4 separate regions of the Homo sapiens genome follow, and regions 1, 2 and 4 are each linked to region 3. Evidence: promoter capture Hi-C in 16 types of primary human blood cells and fetal thymus (Javierre and others, 2016). All regions are on one chromosome and are shown on one strand. Each heading gives the region's core, a stretch centred on a gene start or on the middle of the fragment in contact. The rest is flanking DNA. Distances are from core to core; before and after follow the strand shown. Region 1 has its middle 17 kb from the start of OR4K17. Region 2 has its middle 19 kb from the start of OR4K14. Region 3 holds the start of OR4K13 (olfactory receptor family 4 subfamily K member 13). Region 4 has its middle 14 kb from the start of OR4L1.

What was found. The method cuts DNA at HindIII sites, captures the fragments that hold promoters and counts their contacts. A CHiCAGO score of 5 or more calls a contact.
Region 1: a contact is called between a fragment that was not itself captured here and the fragment with the promoter of OR4K13 in region 3, in 4 of 17 cell types (naive B cells, neutrophils, fetal thymus and 1 more). The highest score is 6.5, in naive B cells.
Region 2: a fragment that was not itself captured here is called in contact with the fragment with the promoter of OR4K13 in region 3 in 2 of 17 cell types (fetal thymus and neutrophils); the score reaches 7.1 in fetal thymus.
Region 4: a contact is called between a fragment that was not itself captured here and the fragment with the promoter of OR4K13 in region 3, in 5 of 17 cell types (fetal thymus, M2 macrophages, naive B cells and 2 more). The highest score is 6.3, in fetal thymus.

What each region holds. Positions count from the first base shown.
Region 1 is chr14:20,091,411-20,096,518 of GRCh38, reverse strand. It overlaps the pseudogene OR4T1P. Among named protein-coding and RNA genes, the nearest start is that of OR4K17, 17 kb to the left of the region's middle. The HindIII fragment of the contact is 1,150 bases long and covers 2,618-3,767 here.
Region 2 is chr14:19,997,529-20,002,740 of GRCh38, reverse strand. It overlaps the pseudogene OR4Q2. Among named protein-coding and RNA genes, the nearest start is that of OR4K14, 19 kb to the left of the region's middle. The HindIII fragment of the contact is 4,026 bases long and covers 338-4,363 here.
Region 3 is chr14:20,032,628-20,037,646 of GRCh38, reverse strand. It overlaps OR4K13 (olfactory receptor family 4 subfamily K member 13), which reads left to right and starts at 1,609. Exons shown (of 2, transcript NM_001004714.2): 1 at 1,609-1,709; 2 at 2,666-5,019. The coding sequence starts at 2,889. The coding sequence ends at 3,803. The HindIII fragment of the contact is 9,053 bases long and covers 1-5,019 here.
Region 4 is chr14:20,071,939-20,077,101 of GRCh38, reverse strand. No RefSeq gene overlaps it. Among named protein-coding and RNA genes, the nearest start is that of OR4L1, 14 kb to the right of the region's middle. The HindIII fragment of the contact is 1,425 bases long and covers 1,526-2,950 here.

The sequences.
Region 1 (5,108 bases), core at 1,943-4,442, 57 kb before region 3:
AAGTTCAAAAATATGTGACATAACATTTTATGCACAATGCATGCATACATCAGAAAAATAATTTTAGGCTGGTCGTGGTGGCTCACACCTGTAATTTCAGCATTTTGGGAGGCAGAGGCAGGCGGATCATTTGAGGTCAGGAGTTCAAGACAAGCCTGGCCAACATGGTGAAACCTTGTCTCTACTAAAAATACAAAAATTAGCTGGGTGTGGTGGTGCATGCCTGTAATCCCAGCTACTCGAGAGGCTGAGACAGGAGAATTGCTTGAATCTGGCAGGCTGAGGTTGCAGTGAGTCGAGATTGTGCCACTGCACTCTAGCCTTGGCGACAGAGCCAGACTCCGTCTCAAAATAATAATAATTTTAAAAACATAAAAGTAAATGATGCCATGGAGCTGATGATAGTGGTTATCTTTGCCAAGATAAAATAATTGAATATGGAGGGTTGCTTAGGTTCTTTATTATCTCTAATAATCCACTTTGGTGGTAAAAGAGAATCTGATACAAATGTGTCAAAATGTTTAAAAATTCAAAAAATTATGTGTTATGTCAGTATCTACATTTAACCTTATAATTTAAATAGTTGATAAGAAATAGATATAAATATGTCCAGTGATTCCAAGGGACCCAGTACCAATGTGTCTCAATGATTTTTTAAAAAACATTTAATTTAAAATATACCATACACATATGGCTATGAATACATCTTTAAGGCACCTTTTAGCTCTAGTTAACATAGCATACATATTACTTAGGAGACAGTGAGGAAATACCGGGTAGAATCCTCTAAGGGGTCAGTAGATGTTTGGGTAAAAGCAGAGCATTTTGAATTTGATGCCAAACAGGTCATAGAATGTGTATTTATTCTAATGTCCATGGACCGTAGATCTAACTTTATAATTTAGTACACTTTAAAGCTTTCTTTATGCAACTTAATCAGATTGAAAACTTTGTTTTGTTGTGAAGGGAATGCCTGGAAAATATATAGGCTTCTTAATTTATTCTTTACTCATGTGAATTGGCAGAATAATAATGTTCTTACTTGTTTCTGGAGAGATATATGAGAGAAAATATGAACAAAAACATGAAAGATTAAAATGTTCTATGTGTAATTTTTTGTCAGGTGAAATTTCTCTTTAGAGTGAAGAAGTGTATGCTTCATGTCAGTGGATTACAGTAACTATATGCATCTATATACTCATAAAAACTAGCCTGTCTGCCTTGTTAAAAAATAATAATCCTTTCACATATTAGGGGCACAAAAATGTAAGTGTGTGTGTTCATGCTTGTGGGTTTATAAGAGTTCACACAACTTTGTTTACATTTGGTCATTTAGAGAATTTGGCTGAAAGATTACTAGTTAAAAGTAGACAAATTTATATTTGATTTCTCTTATTTAAGGAAAGTCTTAGATACATGGAGTCTCTAAATATAGTTAAGAAGCCAGTTTTTCTAGTTAACTTTTTATTATATTTTGAAAGTAATTTATTAACCCAAATTTGAATTGAAAGTTAATGAAAATAACTATGCTTTTTTTTTCAAAAATATTTTAAGGTCGGGGTACAAGTGCAGGTTTGTTTCATAGGTGAACTTATGTCATGGGGGTTTGTTGTACAGATTATTCCATCACTCAGGTATTAAGCCTAGTACTCATTAGTTTTGTTTCCTGATTTTCTCCCTCCTCCCACCCTCCACCCTCCAAAAGGCCCAGTGTGTGTTGTTCCCCTCTATGTGTCCATGTGTTCTCTTTTGCTTTTAAGTGAGAACATGCAGTGTTTGGTTTTCTGTTCCTGTGTTAGTTTGCTAAGGATAATGGCCTCCATCTCCATCCATGTCCTTACAAAGGACATGATCTCATTGCTTTTTTATGGCTCTATAGTATCCTATGGTGTATATATACCACATTTTTTAAATCCCAGTCTCTCATTGATGGGAAATTAGGTTGACTCCATGTCTTTGTTATTGTCAATAGTGCTGCAATGAACATATGCATGCATGTATCTTTATAATAGAATGGCTTATATTCCTTTGGGTATATACCCAGTAATGGAGTTCCCAGGCTGATAATTATATTTTCAACAAAACCACACATGCCATAGAAATATAATAATGAAAAATTATATTTGATAATTTCAATATATGCAATATTATTTATAGAAATCAACAAATAAAATTAATATCAACATATTCTGAAACGTAATTTATATGGGTTCTGAACTAATATCCTGTCCTCATGATTGCTGATTAGAGAAGGTTTGTCTGGAGATGATGTGTTGGGTCCTCAGTTGATGTATAGATGCTTTCATCTCAGACTGTAAGTAATGGGGTTCAGTAAGGGTGTAACTGAATAAAACACAGAAAGAAATGTATCCACTGAAAAGCTCCTAAATGGCCAAGTGTAAATGTAGACACATGGCTCATAAAAATAGAGTGACTGCAGTGATATGAGCAGACAGTGTGGACAGAGCCTTGGAGAGTGCATCAGAGGATCGATGCTGCACAGTTACCAGAATAATAGTGTAGAAAATGAGCAAGACTATGAAGCAGATGAAAGACAACTGTCCACTTTTAGCAATTACCAGCAACTCCAGATCATAAGTCTCAGTGCAGGCAAGCTTCAGAACTAGAGGAAGGTCTCAAAATAAATTGTCCACCACACTGGGGCCACAGAAGGGCAAGGTGATAATAAAAACAATCTGGCTTATAGTATGCACAAAACCAACAGCCCGTGATAGCAGCACAGAGCCCATGAGTGGCCATGAGTACCCTGCAGTTCGTGATGGTTCTGCAGTGAAGAGGTCTGCATATTGCAATGTGCTGATCAACAGCCATAAATATGAGAAGAGTCATCTCACTGCCTCCTAAGAAGTGGAGATCTGAGCCATACAGCCCCATGAGGAAGTGGTTTTATTCTCCCTGAGAACGTCTGGACCATCTTAGAGATTGTGACTGTGGAAATAAACATACTGAGAAAGGAGAGATTTCCAAGGAGGAAGTACATAGGTGTTGAGCAAAGGGGAGGATTGGAGGTTACAGCGATTGCAGTGAGGTTTCCTGCCATGATTGCTGCATAGGCCAACAAAAATATTTAAGAAACAAAATTTCAAGTTCCCAAGTGCTGATGAATTCTAACAAAACAAACTCAGATTATTATTGAGCTGTTTCTTATATCCATCTGGTAGTTTTCAAAAGCTATTTGAAATAAAGATAGTCTGAAAAAAGTTATAATTTTACCTGTGACCATTTTGAAGATATGGACATATAGAAAGTATTTGATTCCTACAGAAAGAGAGAAGATGAACATATATGAAAAATACAATTTAATTAATTCAAGTGTCATTGACATTATTGTATTTTCTTCAATCAGAAAGGCACAAAAGATGAGAAATATATTATAAAATTCTGTAATTATGGTTTGCAGACATAGATTTTTGTCTCCACGTGCATTTATTGTCTCTATGATGAGTTCATGAGTTCTTGATGCATGAGTTCAATAGGTCCATGAGTAAAATTAGTCAAATAACTATTAGCCAAATGAGTTAGTCCAAGAGTGGATAAGAGCAAAGTTGCTTAGCTTTTTGGTGCCTAGTATTCATTCTTTTCCCTCTCTCTAATTTGAAGCATTCATACATGTGCAAGTGAGTTTACTAATACACCCAGTTTAACACATTATTTTATGGCACTTTCTTCTATCTGCTATACTATACTCTTACCTCTCTCTTTTATCCCCAAATGATATACCAATGATTTCACTTATTTCTGAAGCTTTAAGCTGGCTGCAGTCTGGCATATGTTCTTACTGTTCACCCCATGCTTTTATAATTATTTTAAAATGTTAACTTTCTAGAAAGTTTCTAGATAAAATCAAAAATGTTTCCCAGGGTCCAGATGTATTTTTTTTTCTTTTAGTGTAGTATTTTGTGTCATAATTTGGTTACTGTACAAAACTCCTACCATTACTGTGCAGACCTCTTGCTTATTTTCCTGAATCTCATGTTGTTGGGCTCCTGGCTGGAGTGCTTTCTTTCTTGTCCCTTTGCAATCTGTGTTTTGTAGACAGTCTCTGAGCAACCAACAATCCTTTATGTTTGTGTTTCCTTGGCTTTTAAATGCATATCTTCCTGTACCCAGTGCTTTCCTCTGATATTTCACACACATGCAAACTGCCTCCTGACTATTTTACTGGCTCTTACATCCTTGACACTTGTATTCTATATGTCTTCCCACATTGAGCTGACACTTTCGGCTCACTTCCACTAGGTTGGTGCAAAAGTAATTGCGGTTTTGCACCAACCTAATATCTTCCGTTTAGATTTGATTCAGAAATTTAATCCTAGCTTCCTTTTCCTTCTCTTTTATTTTTATGACAATTATTAGTAAACATCACATACATACACACACACACATAGAGAGAGGGGGAGAGAGAGAGAGAGAAAAGAGACGTACACAGATGCAAATGAACATATTTATACCACATTCTAGTTCTGGAGCACCAGAAGAGAAAAAAGAAAATCTATTCTATATTTCAATTTCATGGCTTAATAGCTCATCAGATATTCAGAATACATTATTTGGCTTAAATATCTAAGTTAAAAGGAAAACCTGAAATGCCAACATTTAAATTCTAGTCCTGGCCTCAGCATTTAATAGGGAAATACACTCCTAACTCTTTTGAACATGGATTTTTTCCTGTAAAAATAAAATAATACCCAATCTTTAACCTCACAGATTGGTAGGAGGTTCTAAAGGGTAACATATATGAAATATATTTATGCATTTAATCGTATACATACAGGTGCTATGCATGTTCATTAATGAAATTCTATTCTTTAGAATTACCCCATTTTCTGGTAACTATAAAGTTACCCAAACCAATATGGACCACAGAACTTTACTTTGGAAGAATGGTAAAGAAGACTTAGTGTCAATGAAATTATTTTTCTCTATTAAATATAATTGGTAGAACTGTGTAGTTGACTACTTTATAAAAGATTAAAATTATCATCTTTAGCATCTGCTTTCAGGCAGTAATTGAATCTGCATAGTAGGTATGAAATTGTTTTTCAAAATTATGCACCTTTAATCTCCAAATACTAACAGGAGAAATT
Region 2 (5,212 bases), core at 1,101-3,600, 36 kb after region 3:
TGTCAGCACAAGCAAGTTTGATGACAGGGGGAACATCACAAAAAAAAGTTTTCCACCTGATTTGGCCCACAAAAGGGTAGATGGACAGTGAGAATGGTCTGGACAGTGGAGTGCACAAATCCTCCCATCCAGGAGGCAGCAACCAACACACAGCATAACCCCCGACTCATGACAGTGGTGTAGTGCAGCGGGCGACAGATTGCAACATAGCGATCGTACGCCATCACTGTGAGCAGGAACATCTCAGCTGCCCCTACAAAATGCAGGAAGAAGAGTTGCACAATGCATTGGTCATAGGAAATGAGTTTTTCATGATTAAAGAAGTCAGCCAGAAGCTTAGGGGTCGTTACTGTTGAATAACATAGGTCCAGAAATGAGAGGTTGCCAAGAAGGAAATACATGGGTGATGAATTCAGGTATTTATCAGATGCTACTGTGACCATGATGAGGACATTGCCAACCCAAATGGACATATAGAAGAAAAGAAATAGTACAAATAGCCCTGCTTCAATAGATGGTGTCTGTGAGAACCCTGACAAGAAAAATTCTCTCATCACTTCTGTTTGGTTTTTATCCATTTGATCTGGCTCTACCTAGATCAAAGAGATTAAACAATAGGGCATTAGTGACATTTAAAATGAATGAGGTAATTCATATCAAATACAAGACTCTGCTCATTTCAAAAGAGAGATTTTTCATCCTCTAAGATACATCCTGATTAATTAGCTGGAAGAAATTATTTTCTCCTTACCTAATATAAATGTATATTATTTCACCAGCTGCAACCTCAAGACACTGATGACATGGCCAAGGTTGATTAGAACATGAAGTTACCTGGCTCCAAGCTACTAACTTCCACATGATGCATTTCTGTCTTCCAACATTCAACACATTACTTCTCTCTCCTTTTCCACATTCAGTCTCAAGAAATGTTATATTTTTCTGAAATTTTTTTTTAATAAGAATATTTGGGGAAAAAATAAAATCAAAGGTAGAATTTCAGATTCCAGTAAATGGACATTAGATCTGTAGAGCTTTTATTTGAGAAAAGGGAATCCCTGTACCCTTTGCCATCAAGAAAACTCTTGTAGGACTCTAACCTGTGCACATAGCTACAGGAAAGATCACATTCCACTTGGGATTATTGCTAGTTCAATGACCTCTTAGTATATTTTCTTTGATATGCCTCTTCAGCTTACCATATTCTATAATACACTTATTTCCAGTTTATTATTGTAAATGATATATTTCTTATCTTAAATCATACCTGTGGGCATATAGGTACACATTATGCTTATAATGATCTAAATATAATTATAAAATGGTTATTCATGCATTGAAATGACTCTCCTTTGACTAGTCTATCAAATCAAATAAAAATCAACTATTTCTCTGAGATAAAAATAGCAATTTGTATGTTGTGTATATTTTTTCCATTTACATAAACAATAGCTGGAACATGCTACTGTATGAGTTGAAATGGGTGATGGTCCACGGAGAACTGCGGGGAGGGGTGTTTTTGGTGTTTTGTGATAGCTGTTATTCACTCAAATTCTATAGTTAAGTTGTGCCATACACAGAGCAACATTTTGAAGACTTAAGACATAATAGTTAGATAGCAATTTATAGTTTAAATATTGAATTTTATTCACCTTATTTTAGTTTATGCCACTGTTAAATCTATAAACGGTATACTTTCATTTAGGCAAATCGACGAGGATAAAAATATTAAAAAAATAATTTTAAACTAAACAAAAGTTAGCTTAAAAATAATAAAATTTACATATTCCTTATTTAAGGCAATGATGTAAATATAAAGATTACATCAATTATATGTAAGAGTTAAAAATATCAAGACACTATGAGGTAAAACTTCCAAATTTAAATATTAGTTTGTTGAACTGGTGTTTAAAAAATATTTATTAACTTTAGAAAATGGTCACATAATAAAAGAAAAAACAGGACACAAAACTATACTTAAAATATGATACAATCTATATATACAGAAAAGTTAAATTATATAAGACACTAGACTACATGTAAAGGCAATAAAATATTTATAAAAATTCACCTTAACAATTGAGACTTTCTTCTTACCTACTGAGAGTTCCTATGCATATCTGTAGGGTTTATGACATTTTATTCTTATATACAAAAATCCAAAAAATGGATTTTTTCTCTTTCTGCAACTTAATTATTACTTAACATTTCAGGTAATAATTTCTCTTAATTATAATCCATTTAACTTGTTTTGAGAGTAAAAGTTGTCTAGATATAACATCAAATAATCTCACTTTCAGAATCATGAAAAACATGAAGAAAATAATTATCTTCCCAATTCTCAGAAGCAAAGATTGTTAATTTTGCTAGCCATATACTCTTAAAACCTTTTAAAAATGCATTGTTTGATTTACACAATATAACATTGCATAGACAATATTATATTGAAAAAGAGCACAATTAGCATTGAATACTACTTCTGCAGGTAGGCCCTGATGACAGGAGCATGAAGAAAGGCTGTCAGTATAATAGATTTTAAGTCAAATTACATACCTTCTTGTCTGTAAATTCTTAGGTCCTGCAGTCATGGACTCCTGGCACATTAACAGTATACAACCATCCTAGATATTATAGACCAAGAAAATTAATGAATTAAGATGAAAACCCCTGGTTACACTGGCCACCATTACGAAATTTTGATGTTTAGGGATTTCAAGATTCAGCTACTCACAGTCAAATCACAAAGGAAATCATTAAAAATTTTTAATCAATCCTTTTTCAGAAATTATGAAACATAAAAATATATGGGATGTGAGGGTAGAAAGCAATTAATAGAAGAGGAAAAGAAGATCTGAGAGTTGTAATAATGTCAGCTGGATTTTATAGAGAGGTAAGGGTCCCCCTGGCCCACATGGCTGAGGTTAGTGGAAAGGGTGATGAAACATTAAGGAAAATTTGGCTTGAAGGGCCTTGCATTTCTTCTACCAGTACACCTTTGCTTGTACTGCTTTATCTGGAGTACCTTTTCTAATCAGAATTATTGACGTTAGATTTAATTTAATTTTGTTTAATATTACAAAAATGTCTTAAGTAAATATAAAAGTTTCCACTTTGTTCTTTTTCTGCCTCTATACCACTGAGAGGGGAAGAGAGGGAAGAGAAAGAGCGAGAAAGGCTTTCCTCAATACAGTAATATACCGTGGATGTGATTTCGTGTGCTATATTCAGCTCTAATTATTATTACTAATTTTTTTTAGATGGAGTCTTTCTCTGTCCCCCAGGCTGGAGTGCAGTGGCCCCATCTTGGCTCACTGCAACCTCCACCTCCCAGGTTCAAGCAATTCTCCTGCCTCAGCCTCCTGAGTAGCTGGGATTACAGGCCCATGCCACCACTCCTGGCTATAGTTCTAATTATTTTTAACTGATATATGATAATAAAACCATCAAATATGGTATGTTATAATAAAATATTCTATCAATGGGGTTGTAGATCATCTATTTTATCATTATAATAAAAGATTCTACAGTGAACAATTTGTTCATATTTCTTCAGACTGCTATTCAGTATATGTAAGAGACAGAGGCTGAAAGTAAAATTTCTGAGACAAATGTGGACAGGTATTTCTCCCCCAAAAAACTGTAGTAATGTATACTTCCATGAGCCATGTATGTGATGCTATTTTCATATTCTTTCCTACACTAGATAATATCATTCTTCAATTTTAATGATAATTTTTCAAATATGATGTATAATAATGATAGTACATTTTAGTTTGCATTTGCCTCAGCAGCACTGTGGATGAACATCTTTTCAGATTTTTATTAGTCACACATATTTTAATTCTAAAAATTGCATGTTCATCACTTTAATTTCTGAATGTTTATCATATTTTCTTTATTAATGTATGAAAGTTCTCTAGACTTCAAAAATATTAAACAATACAAATGTTTGAAACATTTATTGCAAACCTAAATTTACAGCTGATTGAATTTTTGCTTATGTAAACTTCCAACCAGATGGAGACAGAACATTAACAATGCCTCAGATGACTTCCTCACTCCTCCCAACAAAACGCCTAAAGCTAACCTCTTTTATAACCTCTATCGCCTTTGATTAATTTTGCCTGTGTTTGAACTTTGTATAAATGGGATTATAAAATATATACCCTTTCTATGTGTGTTGATTACTTTGATTTGACATTATGACTGAAATTTATTCTAGTTATTGCGTGTGTCATTATACATTTTTATTACTAACAATCTTTATTATTTCTTCCATTATTTAAGCATACGACTGTTTATACATTGTACTGTTGCTGGATATTTGGGTAGTTTCTCATTTTTGGCTAATACAAAAAAAGCTTTTATGAACATTCCTGTACATATTTTGATGGACATTGTATTCATTTCTGATGGATGTACACTAGGAGTGTAACTTTTCAATCCTAAAGTAGATGTATATCTAATTTGATAAGAAACTATAAAACATTCTTCAGATACAGTTGTATCAATTTACAATACCACCACTGTTGTAACAGAGTTTACATCGCTCCATATTCTCCTCAACATCTACCTTTAAAAAGAAAAATAATTTAGTTACTCTGCTGGGTACTAATTGTGGTTAATTTGCATATCCTTGATAAGTAATGATGCTGAACATCTCATATGTTTATTTTCTATTTGAAAATCTTTTTCATGAGGTGTCCATTCAATTTGTTTTCTCAATTGTTGAGTCACTTGCATTTTCTTACTGAACTATAGGAATCTGTTATATATGATATAAACAACTCCTTTGTTGATATATGTATTACAATTATCTAATATTATCTGCGGCTTACCTTTTCACTTTGTTAGTGATATCATTTAGTAAACAGAAGTTCTCATGCAGTCCATTTGTAACTAAAAATCAACTACCACACTAGGCTTCATGAAAATTAAGAACTTCTGTTTACTAAATGATATCACTAATGAAGTTCAGCATCATTACTTATCAAGGGTATGCAAATTAACCACAATTAATACAGTTGTATTTCTATACCCAGATATTTGATAAAGCATTATTTAGTCTCAATCATTGTATTAGTTATTCTCAATGCTTCAGTAGGCACTGAACCTGTCCTCCTTCTGCTGGAATGGAAATCCAGATGGTTTGGCACTTGACTAGAATGATTGGGCTGCCCAAGGTGTGTCTGTAAAGGAGTTTATGTAGGAG
Region 3 (5,019 bases), core at 360-2,859:
CAAAGGACTATAAATCATGCTACTAGAAAGACACATGCACACGTATGTTTATTGCGGCATTATTCACAATAGCAAAGACTTGGAACCAACCCAAATGTCCAACAATGATAGACTGGATTAAGAAAATGTGGCACATATACACCATGGAATACTATGCAGCCATAAAAAATGATGAGTTCATGTCCTTTGTAGGGACATGGATGAAATTGGAAATCATCATTCTCAGTAAATTATCGCAAGAACAAAAAACCAAACACCGCATATTCTCACTCATAGGTGGGAATTGAACAATGAGAACACATGGACACAGGAAGGGGAATGTCACACTCTGGGGACTGTTGTGGGGTGGGGGAAGGGGGGAGGGATAGCATTGGGAGAGATACCTAATGCTAGATGACGAGTTAGTGGGTACAGCACACCAGCAGGGCACTTGTATACATATGTAACTAACCTGCACATTGTGCACATGTACCCTAAATCTTAAAGTATAATAATTAAAAAAAAAAAAAGAAAAAAAAAGAAAATAATATTGGATTTTTAGGGTGGGTGAGGAGTTGATTATGAATATCCAGGAGAAGTTAGGGATTGATAAGGTAGTTATCACAGGTTTATAAAGAAGAGAGTGATATGATGAAAAATAATTTTTATAGGTAATGTTAAATTCATTCTAAGAATAAACTGTATTTGTGGGGAGATTACATTATGCAACATCTACAAAGTGGAATTCTATACACCTATTAAAAAGTTATGTTTCTATATGTTAATATAAACATATTTAAATGTAATAAGTTAAAAACTCAAGAAAAATAGCTATACATATAATATATAATCTGCAGTCTTAATAAAATGATATAAATATAAATACCTGTAACACTAACACACACACACTGTACTGAAGTGTGTATTATTTTTCTGGAAAGTTATCTAAGAAGCTCTTAAAATGTTCAGTCAGTCTTTCTGTTATCTGTGATGTGCTTTTTTCACATTGGCATAAACTACCTTTTTTTTTAAAAGATAATTAAAAGAAAAAAACATATTTTAACCAGCTTTTTAAGAATGGCTGTTCTATTTCTGATTTTAAAATACTTCAACATTCAATTTGACATTTAAAAATAAATATTGTTAAAATTCCTAATGTTGTGGATTTTTCTGTGGATTAAGTCAGCTGACTTAATCTAGATCCTGAATATGCACTACATAGTTTATTCATTCAACAGATATTCACTTAGTGTTTTTGATATGCACTATTCCAGATGTGGAGGATTTATAAACTTCTTTGTATGTATTTGAAAATTGTTCTCTTCTGTTTAAATGCAGCTTCAAAAATTGGGTTTCAAAAAGAAGCATTAGTAGGAATTCTTAAATATTAGTCATAAAACTGAAGAGAGCTATTACCTTTATAGACATATAAATGAATGGCTCTAATTACATATTTGATGAAATTTAATATTTTGCATCAAAGTTTCTCAGAGTGGGAAATTGGCCAACAGATATGTTTACATAGGGAAAAAAATACATCCCTAGTTGGATAAGTGTTCCTATGGGATTATCTCATAGAAACATATAGCACTATGGTCTCTATTTTTTCTGTTTCTGATGATTGGAAGAGTAAATTGCAGATAACTGATGGGGATACAGGAAAAGGAGATAAAAGGCCATTCCTGGGATTCACGTACGACGCCATCACGAAAGTTTTTTTCCCCTGTCTTGTAAGTAATAACAGCACAAAAAGATGACTACAAATACTTTATTTACTGAAGGTGTTTTGTAAGACCTAGATTAATTTAAAACTATTAGCAACGGAGGCAATTTTTTTAAAAGCTGAACCAATAGAACCAGTTTGTAATAAGCATGAGCCGATGACAAATTTTGTCATAAATTTAGATTATACTGAAAGAACTGTATTTCTTTTACCAACATAAATGTTACATCAAGCTAAGTCATTTTGAAACCTATGACAACCATACACAGGCCAACCAGCTAACCACTACATAGCAATAACCAGGTAAATGAATAAATGAATGCAAGCTGAAAGTGAAATTAGTCAATTACATTTGACTGTGGGTTGTTTGTACACATTGTCTAACCATCTAGAGGAGGTATTTGATGTGAATAATATGAAATGTTGAATGAACGAATTATATAAATATATATAAATATATGAAATGTATGTAATATACATGTTTAATATATATATACTATACATATACTTGACACTTCAAAAGTGTGTAGTGACTACTGCTAATACTGATCTGTGAGGGATTCATGCAAGAATGGAGCATGGAGGAAATAAGGTAAGTTTCTCAGGACCTAATTCATATTTCTTTACCAGAGTCCATTTCAAAACATGGTTCTTGAGAATCCTGGATGTATTTTTGATATCCTTTCCACATTAATAAAACTCAATATTATTCTGTGACTATAAAACTCACCAGAATCATTATCTTATTCATAGAGATCTTTATAGCAGAAAGAGGCATTCGATACCATATAGTCCAAATTCTTTTTTTCACTGAGAAGAAAACCCTCAAAAGGAGAGTTACTTGTCCTGTGTCACCCAGTGAGCAGCTTACCCAGGTGTCCTGTAGAGGTCTTCTGATTCTAATTCATGACCTATAGTTTTGTGGTTTCATGTACTATTAATGTTTTTATTTTTGTCTTCCAGAAACTTATATTCTGAATTCTACTGACTATTTGGGATACTTCTCTGGGCCATTAGTAAAATCACTGACTGACAAAATTCCACAAAAGTAAGGGTCCTTGTAAGTTCAAGTGCCTTGACTGAGTACCAAATGTGGACATCAACATGAACATTTCTTTCCAATATGCATCATTTCCCTACCCCTTATTCTCACTTATTTTGATCATTATGGGATAAAGTTGACGATATGGAAAGAGCAAACCATTCAGTGGTATCGGAATTTATTTTGTTGGGACTTTCCAAATCTCAAAATCTTCAGATTTTATTCTTCTTGGGATTCTCTGTGGTCTTCGTGGGGATTGTGTTAGGAAACCTGCTCATCTTGGTGACTGTGACCTTTGATTCGCTCCTTCACACACCAATGTATTTTCTGCTTAGCAACCTCTCCTGCATTGATATGATCCTGGCTTCTTTTGCTACCCCTAAGATGATTGTAGATTTCCTCCGAGAACGTAAGACCATCTCATGGTGGGGATGTTATTCCCAGATGTTCTTTATGCACCTCCTGGGTGGGAGTGAGATGATGTTGCTTGTAGCCATGGCAATAGACAGGTATGTTGCCATATGCAAACCCCTCCATTACATGACCATCATGAGCCCACGGGTGCTCACTGGGCTACTGTTATCCTCCTATGCAGTTGGATTTGTGCACTCATCTAGTCAAATGGCTTTCATGTTGACTTTGCCCTTCTGTGGTCCCAATGTTATAGACAGCTTTTTCTGTGACCTTCCCCTTGTGATTAAACTTGCCTGCAAGGACACCTACATCCTACAGCTCCTGGTCATTGCTGACAGTGGGCTCCTGTCACTGGTCTGCTTCCTCCTCTTGCTTGTCTCCTATGGAGTCATAATATTCTCAGTTAGGTACCGTGCTGCTAGTCGATCCTCTAAGGCTTTCTCCACTCTCTCAGCTCACATCACAGTTGTGACTCTGTTCTTTGCTCCGTGTGTCTTTATCTACGTCTGGCCCTTCAGCAGATACTCGGTAGATAAAATTCTTTCTGTGTTTTACACAATTTTCACACCTCTCTTAAATCCTATTATTTATACATTAAGAAATCAAGAGGTAAAAGCAGCCATTAAAAAAAGACTCTGCATATAAATTTAAAGCATACTTTTTAGATGAGACTTTTGAAGAGACACTCTCTTGTTTGTTTGAACATTTAAGAAACTCGTTTTTAATGTATCAGGTTCGTGCAAAAGTCATTGCGGTTTTTGCCATTAAAGTAAATGACAAAATTAAAGTAATGGCAAAAACCACTATAACTTGTGTACCAGCTAACAGTTCAAGTTCCATATGAGGAAATAGTAGATGTAATTGTTAAAAAGCAAACACCTTTTTGTGATCTTTTATGGTCAAACACATAATATCTACAGTTTGGCTTGTATACATTTAAATCCCACCTTTATCAGTTTCTCTGGTGCAAATTTGAAGAAAATAAATAAGTTCCCTGTGATTTAGTTTTTTCGTCTATACAACCTTGTTTATATGCATCTTTCATTATTATTTTAGCATGCTCTTAAACCTCAGAAAACACATTATTATTGTTAGGTTTTTTGTTGTTGTTATTGGTAATCTATGTTTAGAGAAAGCACACAGATGACATCTCATCACGGTTATTTATCCAAGTGCCTTACAGGCTAGAAAACTGCATGTTCTGGGTAATCCCTGATTAGTGTGTATTAAATTATACTAAGTTGTTTTCCATAAACACAGTGTGTTCACCATTCTTCACATATTTTGTGAGCCTACAGAATGCCAGAAGATATAGCCAGGCCTTCAAGGAACTTACAGCCTATGGATAGATCGAGCAAACTAAATTGGCAGTTGTTCCATGGCACGAACAGCACTGTTACATGATGGACAGGGTGCTTTGAGAGTGCAGGAATGGCATCTCAATCAGGGCAGGGCAGGAAGGTTTCCACTTATAGTTAGCATCAGCTAGATGGAAAAGAAAGACATTCCACGAGAAAGAAATAGTATGTTGAGAATGCATAGAAGCATGACACAGTGGAGAACCTATACATAATTTCATTGAGCTGGGTCATGGGCTATGATGTTGAGAGATGAGATAGAGAGGTAGGTCAAATGTAGTCTGATCATATAATAGAAAATATAGGACACTCTTTGGAATTCAAAACTGTGTCATGCTGAAATTTAAAAGAGAGACAGGAAGGAAAAAAAGTAAGCATAGACCATTCCTGTCCCAACTTGTACATTGTACTGCTTCTATTCCAAGTTTATCTCCCCCTTCTTAGCTCTGTTCATATTTCTCTTTGCAATCTAGGCAACTAGGCCTGTAACTGACTTGAAGGCT
Region 4 (5,163 bases), core at 989-3,488, 39 kb before region 3:
TCTGTCTGAATGATTTATCCATTGTTTAAAGTTGGGTACTACACTTCCCTATTATTATTGCATTGCAGTCTATCTTTCTCTTCAGACCTACTAATATTTGCTTTATATGTTTAGGTGCTCTGCTAATGGGTGCATATATACTTACAGTTCTTATGTCTTCTGGGTACACTGATATCTTTATCATTACACAGATTTTGTCTCATTTTATAGTTTTTGACTAAAAGGCTATCTTACATCATGTAAGAATAGCTACTCCTTCTCTCTTTGATTTGCATTGGCATAGAATATCTTTTCCAATTCCTTTGTTTTCAGTCTATGTGTGTTCTTAAAGTTGAAGTCAATATCTTGTAGGCAACAAATAGTTGGGACTAGTTTGTTTTTTAAATCCATTCTGCTACTTTGTCTTTTGATTAAAGAATTTTATTTATTTAAATTTATGGTTAATATGAATAAATAAGGATGTATTATTGCCGTTTTGTTCATCATTTTCTGGTTATTTTGTTGATCTTATTTTCCTTTTTTTCCTCCCTTGCTGTCTTTATTTATAATTAGATTTCTCTCTATATATATAAATATGTGCATAATATATGTAATATATATATAATGTAAGATTTTATATACTATGACATATATTAAGACATAATACAATATATAAGATCTATTATATATATAAAGCATAGTGATATGCTTTGAATCCTTACTTTTTTGCGTGTGTGTATCTATTAAGAGTTTTTGTTTTGTGGTAACCATAAGGCTTACATAAAACATCTTATAGTTATAATGGCCTATTTTACGCTAACAATTGTACTTTGTTTGCATAAAGAACCTCTACAATTTTACTCTTCCTCTCCACAACACATTTTCTGTTTCTGATGTCACAGTTTACATATTTTGTATGTATATGCCTTAAAAATTATTGTACGTATTATTTTGATTTTTTAAATCTTTTAACCTTCATACTAAATAAGTGATTTACACACTAGCATTACAGTGTTAGAGTTCTAAATTTGACTGTGTACCTAGTTTTAACAATGAGGTTTCTTCTTTAATATGTTTTCATGTTACTAAAAGCTGTCCTTTCTTATGCTCAAAGAACTCCCATTCATGTTTCTTATAAAAAAGATTTGGTGGTAATGAAATTCCTTAGCTCTTGTTTTTCTGGGATAGTCTTTATCTCTTCTTCGTGTCTGAGGGAAAGTTTTGCTGGGTGAACTATTCTTCATTTGAAAGTTTCTTTCATTCAGCACTTTAAATATATCATCCTATTCTCTTCTGGCCTACAAGGTATCTGCAGAGAAATCTGTTAGCCTCACTGAAACTTCCTTACGTGTGATATGTTTGTTTTCTCTTGTTGCTTTCAGGATTGTCTCTTCATAATTCGTTTTTGAAAGTTTGATTATAACATGTCTTGGTATAGTCTCGTTTTGGACTGAATGTTTTGGAAGACATTTGAGTATCCAAACCTGAATGCTTCTATTTTCCCTAGATTTGGAAAGCTTTTAGGTACTATTTCTTCAAATAAGCTTTCTGTCCCTTTGCCACTCTTTTCTCCTTCTTTATCTCCTACAATTCAAATAGTTGCCTTCTTGATGTGATCCCTTAAATCCCATAACCTTTCTTTATTTTTTGATTTTTGAAATTTTGTCTCTTCTGACTATATATTTTCAAATACACTATCTTCAGGTTCATAGATTATTTTGCTTAACTCTGCTCTTAATGTTCTCTGTTGCATTTTACATTCATTAGCTATATTTTTTGGCTTCAGAATTTCTAGGTTTTTTTTTTTGTATTTTTAATCTCTCAGTTAAGTTTCTAATTTTGTTTGTTTCCTGATTTTTAATCAACTTTCCTCTGTATTTTCTTGACATTCTCTTAGCTCCCTCATAAATACAATTATAAAATCTTTGTCAAGCCATTCATATATCCCCATTTTGGGGCATCAGCTCCAGGAAAATTATTGAATTTCTTTTTTGGTGGTTATATGTCTCCTTGGCTTTTTATGTTTATTGATGCCTTGCATTGAGGTCTACACATTTGGTAAAACAGTCACCTCTTTTTGACTTTATGAGTTCATTTTGGTGTGGAAAAACCTTCCCCTATGAAGAGAAGGGTGCAAGGGCACTGGTTCTAACACCAGTGAAGAAGCAGCTGTGAATTCCAGGGCATCTCTATTAGTTGTGGTCAGTATTAATGAAGATCACAAGGATTCTTGACAGGCAATACTGTACATGTTCACAGTACCATTGAATGACTGATGTGGTCTTCATTGGCAATTGCTGCTAAGGTCCTTCCAATGTCTGTATCTCCTACTGGGAAAGTTGTGGCTGAAGGGATCCCCCTTGACACTGTGTCCAATTTGTGGGCCCACTCCAGGGACAGTGGCACCAGTTTCTGATGAGTGCTAACCATGAAGTGACTGTGGAGCTGAGGCCTGAAGCATGAGCACATGTAGAGGGACTATGGCTCTGGGGTGTAGGGTGGTATAGGCAGTGGTACCCAGGGTGCACATGCCCTCATTGTCATGTTCATAACAACATGTAAGGCACAGGTGCTTGTGAAGCAAACAAGGTACAAAGAACAGAAGCATAGGTATGCACAGTATTGACAGGATATAGGGAGAGATGATGAGTCCCATCTGAAGGGGCACAACAATGACTGTGTCTTGAGGGGGTTAAGGTGTGTGGCTGCATCTAACTCTTTAGAGTTTCCCAGCAAGAATGGCTGTTGGTTGCCTCAGTGGCAAAAGATGCCAATGTTTTCTGAAGAGAAGGCCTTTGGGACCATAGTTCTTGCTGCATGGCTGACAGTGATAACCTCTGCCTTTTTTTTGTCCTTTGCCATCTCTTCATGTCTTAAGTTTGCTGATCTCACCAGAAATCTTTTCTGTGAGGATATTCTTGACTTTTTGCTCCATTATATTTCTGTAGATTATTTAGTGGGCCCTTAAGCTTTCTCAGAACTATTTTGGTTTGTGCATAGCTGTCTATGTTTGTTTTTCTGTGGGGAGGATAAATACTGGTATCTCCTACTCCTTCATCTTGGCGATGTCACTCATTCTAGATTACATTAATTATAAAATTTATTATGATAAATTTTTCACGTTTAATTCTAACTTGTCTGAAATTAATAAATGATAGGATATGAGTTTTTATTATTACAATTAAATAATTCATTTTATTAAGAATGTATAATGCTCTGGCCAGGTGCGGTGGCTCATGCCTGTAATCCCAGCACTTTAGGAGGCTGAGGCATGTGGAGTTCGAGACCAGCCTGGCCAACATGGTGAAACCCCATCTCAACTCAAAATACAAAAAATTAGCCAGGCGTGGTGGCAGGTACCTGTAATCCCAGCTACTGGGGAGGCCAAGGCAGGAGAATCGCTTGAACCCGGGAGGCAGAGGTTGCAGTAAGCTGAGATGGCACCATTGCACCATTACACTCCAGCCTGGGCAACAAGAGTGAAACTCTGTCAAAAAAAATAAATAAATAAATAAAAAAGAAAGAAAACGGATAATGCTCCCTTTATATTTATTTAAATTGGAGATAAGTCTGGCTACTTTTTAGATCTATTCATTTTTGTCATTGTTTTTGTGTTCTTAAAATTTTTGTCTTCTTTTATGGCTCACAGAAAAGTTTTGTCATCTTCATTTTGTCAGCAATGTTTTTGTAACATATTTGTGGTTAAATAAAATTTGCGTATTTCCTACTTTGATGCTATACTTAATATGATTTTTCTCTTTATATTAATTCATCTTATTGCTATTGTTATCTGTAAATGTTTTATATATATATATATTTAAGTGGTAAATGGAATCAAATCTCATGTTCAATATTTTTCTAATTGGTTCTCTTCTATTTTTTGTATTATTGATAAGATAGATAATATTCACATTAAAATATTTCTCTACTATTATTTTATTACCTTATTTCATTAACTTGAAATTTTTGAGCAATATTGAATACCAATGGTGATAACTGGCTATGGTAGAACTCGTTGGTTTCCCAGTAATGATTCTTTCTTCTTTCTTGGTAATTGAAACCATATATTCTCTGGGATAGGCTGACTATGTGCTTCCATGGAGGATCAAATCTTTTTCATAAGACATCTGTCTAGGACAATCAAAGTGCTTTCACTTCACTCACCAGAGACTAGTTTAGCAATGAGCATTAACTGTGTCCCAGAGACTAGTAGTGTCCTCTGAAAGGTCATTCTCTTATTCTTCCTTGGTAAGAGACACCTAAATTCAGTTAGAGTATACTATACAGTCTACCTTAAACTTAGAAGGAGCAAATTCCAAAAAAACCCCTATATTATTGGGTAGCTCTTTGATGAAATTTGTATTGGAGCTGACTCAGTAGAGAGTTATGCCCTTTGCCTCTGCCCAACTCTGTAATTTCTGGGGTCTAATTGAGAAAAGAAAAATAACTCTGAGTATTTCAAACAGGTTATTTAGCTACTCAAGCGATGGAATAGCTAAGATGTTGAACAGGATATGTTCAGAGAAACCAAAGATGACTATCAAATGGAAGCCACTATCACATCTAAGCTGTAGGAACAAGAGAAGAGGCACTCTCACCACAGGCCAAGTGTGGGGTCGTGTTAGTTTTCTATTTCTTTCCTAGCAAATTATACAAATTTATTTGCTTCAAGCAACACAAATTCATCATTTTACAGTCCAGTAGGTTGAAGTTAAATATGAATCTCACTAGGCTAAAATCAAGGCATCAACAGGATTAAATTTTTTTCTAGAGACTTTGGGGGAATTCATTTCCAGGACTGTGGACAGGTTGTGGGCAGGATTTCACTCTGTGTGATTGTAGGACTGACATCTCCATTTCTTTGCTGGTTGCCATTCAAGGGTTATCCTTAATATTTAGATACTATCTGATCTTCCTTTGTCATGATCCCCTTCCTCTTTTAAGCCATTAACAGTGGACGGGACCCTTTGAAAGGCTCATCCCCAGCCGGGCACGGTGGCTCGTGCCTATAATCCCAGCACTTTGGGAGGCTGAGGCGGGTGGATCAGGAGGCCAGGAGATTGAGACCATTCTGGCTAACACGGTGAAACCCCGTTTCTACTAAAAATACAAAAAATTAGCCCATGTGGTGGTGGGCGCCTGTAATCCCAGCTACTCAGGAGGCTGAGGCAGGTGCTTGAACCT